Linked DNA regions of Homo sapiens: region 1 is linked to region 2. The links are contacts of gene promoters, found by promoter capture Hi-C in blood cells and fetal thymus (Javierre and others, 2016). All regions are on one chromosome and are shown on one strand. Each heading gives the region's core, a stretch centred on a gene start or on the middle of the fragment in contact. The rest is flanking DNA. Distances are from core to core; before and after follow the strand shown.

Region 1 (6,439 bases), core at 1-2,500, 1.3 Mb before region 2:
CCCAGGGCCCCAGGTGCCATGCTGCAGGGGCGGTTCTGCCCTGCTGGGAGGAGCGAGCCCTGGGAGGTGCATGGCCCTCCTCTCTCCAACTGCAGAAAGGCCAGAAGGCTTTCAGCTACTCGGCTCAATACCTCAACCCCAAACCCAGGTGACCAGAACCCAGCCCTTCAGCTCTAAGCTGTGTGAAAGGGGGGCTCAGGTCCTCGGGAACTCCTAGGAACCTCTTCTAACTGATCACCTCTCCAACCTATATTCAGGACCAAGGACCAGAGAGGTCAACACTCCAGCCACAGAACAGAGTACCAGGAGAGAGGAGAGGGGTGAACACGAAACCGTGAGGGGCCAGGTTAAGAAATGGCAGGAGGGAAGCACGCTAAGCCCGACTATGAAGAGTTGATTCGGGGACCCTAGGAACCCCCACGAACAAAGGCATCAGTGAGGAATGCCCCCGGTAGAGAGGGAGGGGCGGGAGCGGTAAGAGGCAGGACTCCAGCAGTATCCGAAAGAGGTGCAGGCAGCGGGCCTTCCCTAGGGGAGGGGGCCAGGGACTAGGAGGAGCCCCCGGAGGTCCCACAAAGGCCGTGCTCCGGGGCCAGGGGCGGGGGCCGCTCACCCTGCGCTGGCACAGGTGCTGCACGACGCGCTCGGGTGAGGTGCCCAGCAGGTGCTGCCGGAAGCGCAGCAGCGCGCACACGAAGCCGTCCCGCAGGCTGACAAAGCGCGCCTCCAGGTAGAACGCGCGGTCGTCCCAGCCCAGCAGGCGGGTGCGCACCTCGAAGGGCTCCAGCAGGCGCAGCGAGCGGCGGTGGCGCGCGCACGAGGCCGCCAGCACCGTGTGCGCCCGCAACTCCCTCAGCGCCCCGAGCACCCCGCAGCGGGTCAGGTGCGCGACGCGCGCAAAGTCGGCCTCGCGCAGGTAGCGCGCGTTGTTCATGTGCAGCAGCAGGTCCAAGTCCGAGGGCAGCACGCGGCCCGGGAAGCGCTGCTCAGCTAGCAGGTCACGGACGCGCGGCTGCAGCAGGCGCGCGCGCAGCACGGCGCACGGAAGGCGCACCAGGTACCAGACGTCCAGCAGCGCAAAGACAGCGAGCCCCAGGGCCAGCAACGCCACCAGCAGCCCCAGCATAGCGGCGGCGGCGGGCGCGGGGTCCTGCGGAGTCCGTGGCGCCGGTGCCGGTGTCCGCGGCGCTGGTTACGGTGCCCGCCAGGCCTCCTGGGAACTCACGAGCGCAGCGCGCCCGGAGCGAACCACAGCGCGAGGGCGGCCGAGGGGGAGGGGCCCGGAGCCCCGCCCACCGTGGCGCGACCTTCTCAGCGCCCTACGTGGTCCGTCCCGCCGTCCAGGCCCGCGCCACTTTCGCGTTCCCTGGGGCGGGGCGGGCGGCGCGCTGAGCGCCACAGCGGCACCTGGCGGCCGTGCGCGGCGCTGCAGGCGCGAGGGTGCACGCGCGCCCCGGCGTCTCCGCCTTCCCAGCAGCGCGAGACCCTCGCCAGGCTCTGAAGACGCGGCCTGGCCCTGGCCGTTCGGCCCTTCGTCTGAGCGCAAAGGCTCCAGCACCTCCGCGGCCGAAGCCGCGGGACTTTTCGTGGAAAATGGGACCCAGCCCGATCGCCAGCGGCGCTGCAGCGGACTCTGCGGGAACCTAGCTTCTGCTCCAGGACCTCCAGGGCCACCCCAGCTCGCAGGGCGTTCGCAGCGGCTCAGGGCGAATCACGCTCATGGTCCCCGTGCGCATTTTCAGCCCCAGCCGGTACCTCCTTACTCGCCCTCACGACATTCATTCCACCCCCTAAAGGTCCTGCCAACCCCAGGCTCTTCCCGAGCATTCCCGCCCTTCCTCCCTTTTGAAACCGGAGCAAATCACGGCCGGGCGGAAGCGGGGGAGCCCGGGTGAGAGTCAGTGACTCAGCTGCGGACTCCAAGTGTCGCCGGAGGCCCTGGGGCGCAGGCCCAGCGGGCTGTCGCACAGCTCGGCTGTCCTGTGCCCCTTCCTGACGAGGCTGGGGAGGAAAGGCGGCCCAGAGAAGGCCGGACCAGCTCTCCCCGTCAGCCCCAGGCTCTCGAATGACAGCGGATGCCAGCGACCGGGGATGGGGTCCCGGAATTGCTGGGTTAAACAAGCTCCGGATTCAGGCCTGGGCCTGGGCTGGGGTTCCAGGGTTCTGGACCGCCCTCAAAGAAGGAGCTCCCTGGGGCGGCACCTGGCTCTGCTTGATAGCCCCAGGGACAGGGAGCTCACTACCTATCAGGGCAGCTCCCCCAGTGCCGAGACCAGCTCGGTCCTGGAGACCCTAACCCAGCGGTGCTAGAGGAATTAAAGATACACACAGAAATATAGAGGTGTGGAGTGGGAAATCAGGCGTCTCACAGCCTTCAGAGCTGAGAGCCTCCAACAGAGATTTACCCACGTGTTTATTCACAGCAAGCCAGTGATAAGCACAGTTTCTACAGATTATAGATTAAAAGTACCCCTTAGGGAAACAAAGGGATGGGCCAAAATAAAGGGGTGGGTTTGGCTAGTTATCTGCAGCAGGGGCATGTCCTTAAGTCACAGATGGCTCATGCTATTGTTTGTGGTTTAAGAACGCCTTTAAGCGGTTTTCTGCCCTGGGTGGGCCAGGTGTTCCTTGCCCTTATTCCGGTAAACCCACAACCTCCCAGCGTGGGCATCATGGCCATCATGAACATGTTACAGTGCTGCAGAGATTTTGTTTATGGCCAGATTTTGGGGGCCTATTCCCAACACCCTAGCATTGCTCACACTTGTCCCTGAAGTGTCACCTTGTCGTAGCTGGGCTCTGAGCCCTCTGCCCCAGGGAGGGGTGGCCTTTTGGGCTGAAGGGACTGAGGACATAGCCGTTGAGCCTGTTGGCCATTGCTCAAAGAATGCAGCCTCCTGGTCACCCATGTTGTCCCCTTGCCAACAAAAAGAGTGAAACACTGTGCAATGTTTGAAGAGATTTATTCTGAGCCAAATCTAAGTGACTGTGGCCTGTCACACGGCCTCAGAAGATCCTGAGAACTTGTACCCAGAGTGGTCAGCCTGCAACTGGGTTTTACAAATTTTAGGGAGACATAAGACATCAATGAATACTTGCAGGATGGACATTGGTTTGGTCCAGAAAGGTGGGGACAACTGGAAGTGACAGAGGGACTTCTAGGTCATAGGCAGATTCAAAGATTTTCTGATTGGCAATTGATTGAAAGAGTTAAGTTGACCGGGCATGGTGGGCCATTTCTATAATCCTTGCCATGGGGAGGCTGAGGACCATTTGAGCCCAGGAGTTAGATACCAGCTTGGGCAACATAGAGAGACCTCACTTCTCCAAAAAAAAAAAAAAAAAAAAAGTTATTTTTTAAAGACTTAGCATTAATAGAAAGGAATGTCTGGTTAAGATAAGGGGTCGTGGAGACCAGTGTTTCATGATCAGATGAAGCCTCCAGGTAGCAGGCTTCAGAGAGAATAGATTGTAAATGTTTCTCATCAGACTTAAAGAGTCTGTTCTCTCAGTCTTTAAGGGGTGTGTTGATGTTACTGCTGGTCAGCTGGGCCTGAAATCCAAAGGGAGGAGGGTACAGTGAGGCATATCCAACACCCATTTCCTGTCGTGGTCTGAACTAGTGTTTCAGGTTAACCCTGGACTGCCCTTGGTCAAGAGCAGGGGTGCATTCAGATGGTGGGGGTGCTTAGAATTTCATTTTTGGTTTACACCACTGTGTCCTCTCCTGCCAGGGGAGGGACCCAGAGCTGGAGGCTTAGCCCTGGAGATACCGGTGAAGATGGATGAATGAGAAACCAGTTGGAGCTTCCAAGGTCTCTACCCACCCTCCAGACCTCCTCTGCTCCTGCCCCTGCCCATTCATTCCCAACTTCTGCTCTCCCAGCTCCCCTCCCACCCACATGCTGTTCCCTCCTCTTCCATCTTCCGCTTCCTGGGCCCAGAGACTGGGCAAGATCCCCAGGGCTCTCCTTGCACAGCGAACCTCTCCCAGGGTGCATAGCCTTGCTGCAATCTTACACAGGGAATACATAAGCAAGGAATACTTCTGTCCCTCTTGGACTCTGAAGCCAGAAGGCCAGGGCCTGGTTGGCCTCCTAACTGCTGTGTCCCAGGGCCAGAGCAGTGCCAGACACCCAGCAGTCTTAGCACCCACGAAAGCTGGAGGGACCCACACCTTCCCCATCACTCAGTTGCATCAGTCTAACGCAATGGATTTGGGCAGCTTGTGGTGGTTCACTGGCAGTTTATTGGGGGACTTGAAGGAGTCAAGGTCAAGTGGGGGACTTCTGGGTGCCAGACCTGGCCCTTCCTTGGCCTGGGCTTGGGGTGTCCAAGCCCACAGAGCCATGCAGGGGGAAAGAGCTAGGCAAGCAGGGTGGTTGAGGAGGTCATTAGCGTGGCCTCGAGGGAAAACAATTCCAAGAGGAGCCCAAATTCGAATGTCCCCTGGTGTCATTGAGAATGGAGAGATTTAGGTTATGAATTGTGCAGTTGGTGGGTAGCAAGCCAGGGTCCTGAAGATAGTCTGCATATCCCCTGGTGTCATTGAGAATGGAGAGGTTCAGGTTATGAATTGTGCAGTTGGGGGTATCAAGCCAGGGTCCTGAAGATAGTCTGCATATCCCCTGGTATATATCATTTATATAAGGATGTTACTTAACTATTGCTGTCTTCCAGAGGCAGCTTCTTGAACAAATACTTGAGGTCCTCTATAGGTTTACGGGAGTAGACTGTTTTCTCCAAGCAGGCCTGTCGTCCATCAGGAGAAGCAAAAGGTTTTATTCTAGAGACAAGTCCTTCCAACTGTACAGCTGATGGAGTAGCCAAGGAAACCTGGTATGGACCCTTTCATTTCTCAGTGAACTAAGCCTCTGGGCTTCCTTTTCGCCATGTCTTGAGTAGGACCTGTGCACCTGGGCTAGCAGGGAAATGATCTGAAACTCCATGACCCGGCTGAGGTCACATCTTATTATCATATTGCAAGATGGCCTGCTGAACTTGTCCCAAGTTAATGATGTATTTTACCACCTGATTTAAATCTTCGTCTAGAAGAAAGTGGCTAGGAAGCGGCTAGCAACAGGAGGAGTGGGTTGGGCAGATTCATTCTGTCCCAGCTTCCTAGGATGGAATGAGCAGTCCCTTTCCCAGTGCCCCTCCTTCCTATGGTAGGAACATGGGTTACAGGAGCCAAGGGGCCAAGCCGCTCTGTCTGGGCCACCTGTTTGGCAGCTTCACCAGCTCAGCTGTCTCCTCGGCTGGTTAAAGAACTGCCTGCTGGGGCCCTTCATGGTGCATGACAGCTATCTGGGCAGGGAGCTGAACTGCCTCAAGAAGGGACAGAATCACTTTTTTATGTTTTATGGGGGAGCTCCTAGGAGTCCACAATCTCCTCTCTTTCCAGACAGCTGCATGAACATGGAGCACTAGGAATCCATACTTAGAGGCAGGATATACATTAAGTATTTTCCTTCCCTTAGTTAAAGAGCCATGACTAGGGCTTTGAGCTCTGCTTCATGAGTGGAAGTGCTTGGGGCAAGGGCTTTTGCTTCTACAATGTGGTTCAAGCCAACAGCAGCATAGCTTGTCTTTTGGATGCCATTTTCTACAAAGCTGTTCCCAGATGTAAATAATTCTTTATCTGTATTTTCTAAGGGGGAGTCCTGCAGGTCCATTTGTCTAGAATAGGTCTGCTCTAAAGTCTCCACACAAGTGTGTTTGTGTCTCTGAAGTGGGCGAGGGAACCAGGGCAGCAGGATTCAAGGTCTAACACACCTTTAAGGTTCAGTCGAGGGTGTCTAGCAGCAGGGCCTGCTATAAAGTTAGGCTTCCCCAGCCAGTGGTGCTCTTTTATTTCTAACACATTCCAGACCTGGTGAGGAGTGTCAACCTGAAGGGGTTGGCCTCATGTGAGTTGGGAGGCCTCTCTGACCAGGAGGCTGGTGGCCACCACTGCCCTAAGTCAGCTTGGCCTTCCCTGGGCTACTGGGTCTCATTGCTTTGAAAGTAACCACTGGCCATTGGATGGACTCCAGATTCTGAATTAGGACATCCAGGGCTGGCCTGAACCTCTCCTATACATATAGGAAGAAAGGCTTCTACAATTGTGGGAGTCCTAGGTCAGGGGCCTTCCTAACTCAGATTTTAGGGTTTCATATGCTTGCTGACAGGCTTCTACCCAGTGGGATAATTGGTTTTCTCCACTCTTGAGTGGGTTTAAGTATGAGGCCAAAGTTTAGGATCTAAACCCAGCAGAAGCCAGCCATCTGCAGAAATCCGTGCAGCTCTCTTCTACTACCAGGGACTAGTAGTGAAGCAATGGCCCGCTTTCAGTCTGGGGCAAGCATCCTGGCTTCTGGGGTAAGTATGAACCCTAGTCATCGAACCTGTGTCTGGGAGATCTGGGCCTTTAAGGGGAAGACCTTATATTCCCATTCAG
Region 2 (6,006 bases), core at 658-3,157:
TAAGCATCTGTTAAGCATGCCCTCATGTCATCTTTGAGCCCAGCCACCCATGGTGCCTCCAAGACCTCCTCGCCATCCAAACTGCCCACTTGTCTGAGAAAGCTGCCCACCTCCCGGCCTTCCTCCTGCCTCCCATGTCCAGTGCCTGACTGCATCAGCCAGCCACCCTCACCATGTTCTGGGCTGTTACTTGGGACAGAGAGGGGACCAGCTGAGGCCCCCAGCCTTACTCCAGTGGTCAGCGCAAGCTTCCGGGAGGAGGGCAAAGGCAGAGAGGAGCAGGCAGCTGAGGAAACCACCTGGAGGCTGCATCTCATCCCCGCCTGCATTTTCTCCCATCACGCCGACTGCCTGCGGGGGCCTGTCCGCAACCTGCCCCGCTCAGCCAGCCAGCCATGCCCCATCTCCAGGTCCAGCATTGGGCCTGGCACAGAGTAAGTGCTTGGAGAACACGTTGGGGGTGTTGAGGGGTGACCAGCTCCCTAGCGGGGCTATTTGGAAACAGCCCAGGAATTCCTACACAGGGCAGCTTCTCCTCCTTCGTAACCACAGTGAGGGGGGCCGGCGTGGTGATGGGGAGATCCCCAATGCCTAATTCCACTCAGGTGACAGGTTCGGGGCCCATTTACAGCAGCTCCAACGCCCCCTTTGCAGATGGGGACAACAAGGCTCTGCTTAGCCCCGCAGGCTAGGGGCTGCACCAACTCCACCTTTGTGGGCCTCAGTCTCCTCATCTGAGAAATGGGGTTAACGAACTTCTTGGGAGGATTGCAGGAACTCAGTGAAGCACGGCTCTGCACAGGGCTGCCAGGCGGCTTCTGTCTGTGCAAGGCCACAGGCACCCTGTGTTCAGTGACCTCCTCTGGTCTGCAGCCGAGGACACTGCTCCAACCTGGGAGCAGGGCCCCCAGGGTCCACAGACTAGGTGGATGCCCAACACCCACCATCGTGTGCGGGGCACACCCCAGAGCCCGCAGGCAGAGAGAGGGGGTGCAGCACGTGCCTTTCTGTCTTGGCTGAGGGTGCCCGGGCACACACTGTGACCAGCTAGCCTGGACCTCACGCTGCCCTTGGAGCCGCTATCACAGAGGGCCAGGGAAGCCTCCCTCATAAAGGGCTTCCCTCCGGGAACCGGCAGGGTGAAACTGCTCTGCCCACTTGGAGCTAAGCATGCCACCACCCCACCCCTGGGCCACCAGCTGCCCAGGGGCGTGTCAGGAGTCACCCGTTTAATCCCTGAGGCACGTGGATCAAGGCTGCTGACCTGATTCTACCGGGGTGTGCTTGGAGGGCTGAGGCGCCGCCCGAGTCCCAACACTGGTATGGTCTGAGGCGGACTCCACCCGGCCTGAGACCTGACGCTCTGCTTTCCCCTGACCTCCACTGACATCTACGACCCGCCCTGGAGGCACGGAAGGCTGTGGGGTTCCAGCCCCCCAAACTGTGCAGCTGAGGAAAATGAGCCGTGAATGGGGGCAGAGCCAGATCCTGGGCGGGACCCTGCGCAGGATGAACTCAGGGTAGGAGGTCTCCCGCGCACCCAGAAACGGGAGCGGGTCACCCCCTTCCAGCCAGGGGTGTTCTGTGGCTCGCCTGGGGAAACAGCGGCCTCCTGAGGCTCGGCCCCGGCACGTGGCAGCCTCCAGGCCCACGTTCCCGCCGGATCGGCCGCCAGGCGCAGGGTCCCGGGACGCGCGGGCAGGGGGAAGGCGGCGGCCCTCCCGGCTGCGCGGCCCCGAAGCCGTGCCCGGAGCGGGCGGCGGGCTCGCGCGCGGACGGCCCCCCACGCGCCTCCACAAAGCGCCGCGCGCCCCCGCCCCGAGCGGGCGCGGAGGAGACTGACCTGGCGGTCCGGGCGGCGCCGGCACGACGGGTGGAGGGCTCGGGACGCGCGCGCCCTCGCGCACAGGCGCGGCCGCGGCTCCACCGGCTTAGGGCGCGCGCCGGACCCGCTGGGTCACGTGGGGGCACGGCCCAATGGGAGCGCTCCCCACGCCGCGGCCGCGCGCCCGCCGCCCCCGAGGCCGCCCCTGGGCTGGGAGGAGGCGGCTCCGGTCGCGCGGGCGGCCTCGGGGACTGACCTTGGCTCCTGTGCCTGCCGGGCGCCTAGGCCAGGTCGGCCTGGGGCAGGCGGGCGTCGGAGGGGCAGTTTTGAAGCCCGAGCGAAGAGGCAGAGGGCGGGATGCGGACGAAGCCAGGGAGTTCACGAAACTTCTGGAGTTCTCAGTTTCCCCCTAAGTCGACTGGGGCTAGGTCCCGTGCCGCCAGGCGGGCTGGCTGAGGGGATGGGCTGGGGCGACAAGACGGCAGCCGCCTGGCCCGGGTACTTGGGGTCAGACCGGCTTCGAGGCCCCCGGACCGCCGTGTTATCAGGACGGGTAGGGAGCCCACGGGACGCGTGGTGCTCAGAAGAGCGGGGAGGCGTGTGGACGGGGCCTGCCCGAGCTGCACCACCGCCTGCCTCCAGGCTGCGAGGCCCGCCCAGGCGAAGGCGGCATCTCAGCCTCTAGCCCTTGGGGACCTTGAGGACGTCCTCTTATGGGTCAGCCGTTCCTAGGGAGGCTTGTGGCTCCAGTTACTGGAAAAACCAGTGCTGGTTCACGCAGGAGGCCCCAGTACAGGGGGAAACAGAGGCAAGCTGGGGTCTCCCAGGCGGCCTCACCCACCCAGCCCTGTTCCATGCCAGTCCCTGGACCCTTGGCCCAGTCAGATGTTCAACTGCTCCAGCCCTGCCTCCACTTCCCTGAAAGATGCTTTTCCACCCATCCACCCTCAGCAGCCAGAGGGACCCCGGGAAGATGGGAGTGAGAGCTGCCTTCGTCTGCAAAAGTCTCCAGACACCACCTCACTGGTGAAGGCCAGAGACCCTAAACTGTCCCAAGACCACCTGACTGGGCTGCCTCCCTGCCACCTGGCTGCCAGCCTCTCTCAGAGCGCCTGCAAGCTATTCCTCCAACCCAGAGTTTCCTTCCCAGCTAAAGGCCTTTGCACCTGCTGTTCCTTCTGCCTGGAAGTTCACCGCAGACTATCCCAGGGCCTCCATCCTTCCCATTGCATGGTCCCCATCAGCTGCCGCCGCCTCTGAGAGCTCAGTCTCCACTGGCCATCCTGTCTCTCAGCCCACTGCACTCTCCACTCTGCCAGAAAGTCCCCCAATCAGTGACAACACAGGTCACGGTCCACACCTCACCTGGTTTGTCCCCAGTGCCCAGCATCTGGCACCGAGCAGGTGCGTGCAAATCCTGGACAGGTGGGCAAGCTGATGGTGTCCAGAGGCCCCTGGTCCTTAAGGGCAGGGGTGGGGATGGCTCAGAGGACATAACCTTGCAGACCCGGGTTCAAATCTGGGCTCCTCAGCTCATTTGGTCCTCACACAGCCCATGTTGGGAGAGCTAGTGTTCTCCCTGTTTTGCTGATGAGACACAGAGAAGGTCAGCAACTCCCGAAGATTGCCCAGCAAGTTGGGAGTAAAGCTGGTGCAATTCCCACGTTTAGCTGCTAAACAGGGTGTCCTGTACTTGGTGTGTTCAAGCAGAAATCCACACATGGGAAGGTCAAGGCAACATCCCTGGTACTCCAGCTTTGAGGTCCTAGGAAAAAGGGAACCTCCCATTAAATGCTTCTATTGCCGGGAAGTTCAGCACCTGTAAAAGCAGCCCCTTCCCGTTTCACTGTGGCTGCATTTTAATTCTTATTTTTTAAATGTTTAGCTTAAGGCCGGGCACAGTGACTCACACTATAATCCCAGCAATTTGGGAGGCTGAGGCGGGAGGATCACTTGAGCCTAGGAATTCAAGACCAGCCTAGGTAACATAGTGGGACCCTATCTCTACAAAAAATAAAAAATTAGCCAGTCATGGTGGCATGCTCCTATAGTCCCAGCTTGGAGATTGAGGTGGGAGGATCACCTGAGCCTAAGAGGACAAGGCTAGAGTAAGCCCTGATCCCGCCAGCACCCCAGCCTAAGTGAAAGAGCGAGAGCCTGTCTCAAAAAAGATAAAAAAAAAAAAAGCATTAATAAATAAATGTTTGGCTTCATCTAGCCTGAGCAGCACCAACACCCCCTGCCTGTTTCATGCTATTTTCCTCCTCTCCTGCCCAAAATCTCAGAGAGGTTTCTATCCCAGCCACCCAAATTTGCTGGGGTGAGTGGGCTCCCGAGAGGCTGGAGCCTCCTTCCTCCCCACGCTCTTACCATCCTGCAGGGAGTCGGGAGCAAAGGAGGAGGCTCCTCCATGCTGGATTCATTTCAGTTCTCAGACATTCACCGAGTGCTGACCACATGCCAGGGACTTACACCCACCCACCAAGTCCACACTGAGCCCTGCAGAGGAATCCCTGACACCCCCATTTTGCAGATTAGGAAGCAGAAGCTAAGCGAAAGCAGAATCAAGATTCAAACCCAGGCACGGTGAAACCAGAGCTGTCCAACTGCTGTGAGTGGAATGGGCCGGGCATGAACAGGCTTGGGGAGAATCCTGGGATTTCATAGCCGGAAGAGAGCTCAAAGTGATCGTGTTTTACAGAGGAGAAAACGGGGCCTCAGAGATGATGGCTGAGCCGTGAAAAGGTGGGGTCAGAAGCCAGGCCCAGTCTCCTGAATTCCAGACTCCAGAATCTCCCCCAGGATTGAGGAATGTTCCACAGAAAGAATCCCAGCTCCACCTACCCCAGTCACTGGACCTGCCCAGCCCTGGAGGCATGGCCAGGAGGAGGCCCCCGCAGGTGGGGGATTGTTGGAGAGGGATGCCAACCATGCAGGACGATCTAGACAGTGGTGAGGCCCACTGGGGCTGGCAGGATTAGCAGATTAGCTCCAAGGAGGACAAAGACGAGGTCAGCGTTAAGTGGATTTCTGGAAAGCCTCCTCCAGCCCAGCAGGGCCCTACAGGAGGGGCCCAGGCTGGGGGACCTAGATCCAGCCACGGAGGGCATGGGTGGGCTAATGGCACCAGCAGCAGCTCTTGAGCCCCCATCACTGGGCTGCACACTTTGACCTCTCCTGGCCTCAGTTTCCCCATCTATAAATGTCATAGTAATAGCTCCAACCTCACAGGGCTCTTGGGAAGACCCACAAGATGGTGGCTGTCAAGTGCTGCGTTGCTTCTGCCTGCGCAGAAGTAGATGTCTTTATGACTGTCCTTTTGAATCCTCCTCAAGCCCTGAGCGTCAAACAAAATAAAAAAGAGCTTGTTGTTCAGTGGTTAGTTAGGTAAACAGGAGCGGGGTGCAGGAGTATACATCTAGGAAGAGAGTAAGTGTGCGGAACGATGCTCTCTGGGCCACTTCACGTCCCCTCTGTTCCCTGATTTCAGTGGCAGTGGCCCATTCTGAGCGAGCTTGGACCCTCCTCCTCAGTGCCTGCCTTCCGTGTGTACCAAGCCCTGAAGGGCAGAGGAGGGCCAGCCCTCCGCAGTGTGGCAGGGCTCTGGCGGATACACCTGCCTCCCATCTGCAGAAGGACCTTCCTCAGGTGTCCGGCACACTTCTCAGGAGGTCCTGAAACCAGCTGAGACCTCCATAACACACCTGTGTTGGCTCCCTCACCTGGTCATCACAAATAAACCACCTGCACCAATGTCCCTATCTCAGGCTCTGCTATCGAGGGAACCAGCGTAAGCAGCCACGCCCCTGATGCGAAGAGGAAGCAGGGCTTGAGGGAGGCCAGGACTCGGGGGATTGGCGTGCAGGAGCTGGGAAAGTCATTTTCATTTCCCTCCTTCCCCTAGTTTCGTTAATGCAGCCACGCTACTGTGATGGTGACATTTTCATTTGTGTATTAGTTGTGCCTGTAAAACCTGCTCTCTCTCCGCGTCTGTGGTCAAGAGTTCTGAGTGGCTGGGCGGGGCGGTTCTCTGGCTGGGGTCTCATGAGATGCAGTCAGATGGCCAGGGTTCCAGACATGCAAGGGCCCGACTGCGGCTGGGGGATCCCCTTCGGAACCCTCTCACTGTCCCAGCTGGCCAGGCCATGCAGGTTATTAGCTGCTGCTTCAGAGTCTTCCTC

The links. Contacts are between HindIII fragments. The CHiCAGO score rates a contact against its expected background, and 5 or more counts as called.
Region 1: a contact is called between the fragment with the promoter of THEM6 here and the fragment with the promoter of PTP4A3 in region 2, in 2 of 17 cell types (endothelial precursors and erythroblasts). The highest score is 5.7, in endothelial precursors.

Annotation. Positions count from the first base shown.
Region 1 is chr8:142,722,034-142,728,472 of GRCh38, reverse strand. It overlaps THEM6 (thioesterase superfamily member 6), which reads right to left and starts at 1,250. Exons shown (of 2, transcript NM_016647.3): 1 at 614-1,250. The coding sequence starts at 1,126. LNCOC1 (lncRNA associated with ovarian cancer 1) reads left to right here and starts at 1,500. Exons shown (of 3, transcript NR_038925.1): 1 at 1,500-1,751. RefSeq lists silencers at 505-754, 1,055-1,494 and an enhancer at 1,525-1,744. The HindIII fragment of the contact is 9,584 bases long and covers 1-6,439 here.
Region 2 is chr8:141,387,922-141,393,927 of GRCh38, reverse strand. PTP4A3 (protein tyrosine phosphatase 4A3) reads right to left here and starts at 1,907. Exons shown (of 6, transcript NM_032611.3): 1 at 1,844-1,907. It overlaps ASTILCS (antisense transcript of PTP4A3, liver carcinoma survival associated), which reads left to right and starts at 1,307. Exons shown (of 2, transcript NR_187488.1): 1 at 1,307-1,520; 2 at 2,777-4,060. RefSeq lists an enhancer at 2,215-2,835. The HindIII fragment of the contact is 6,687 bases long and covers 251-6,006 here.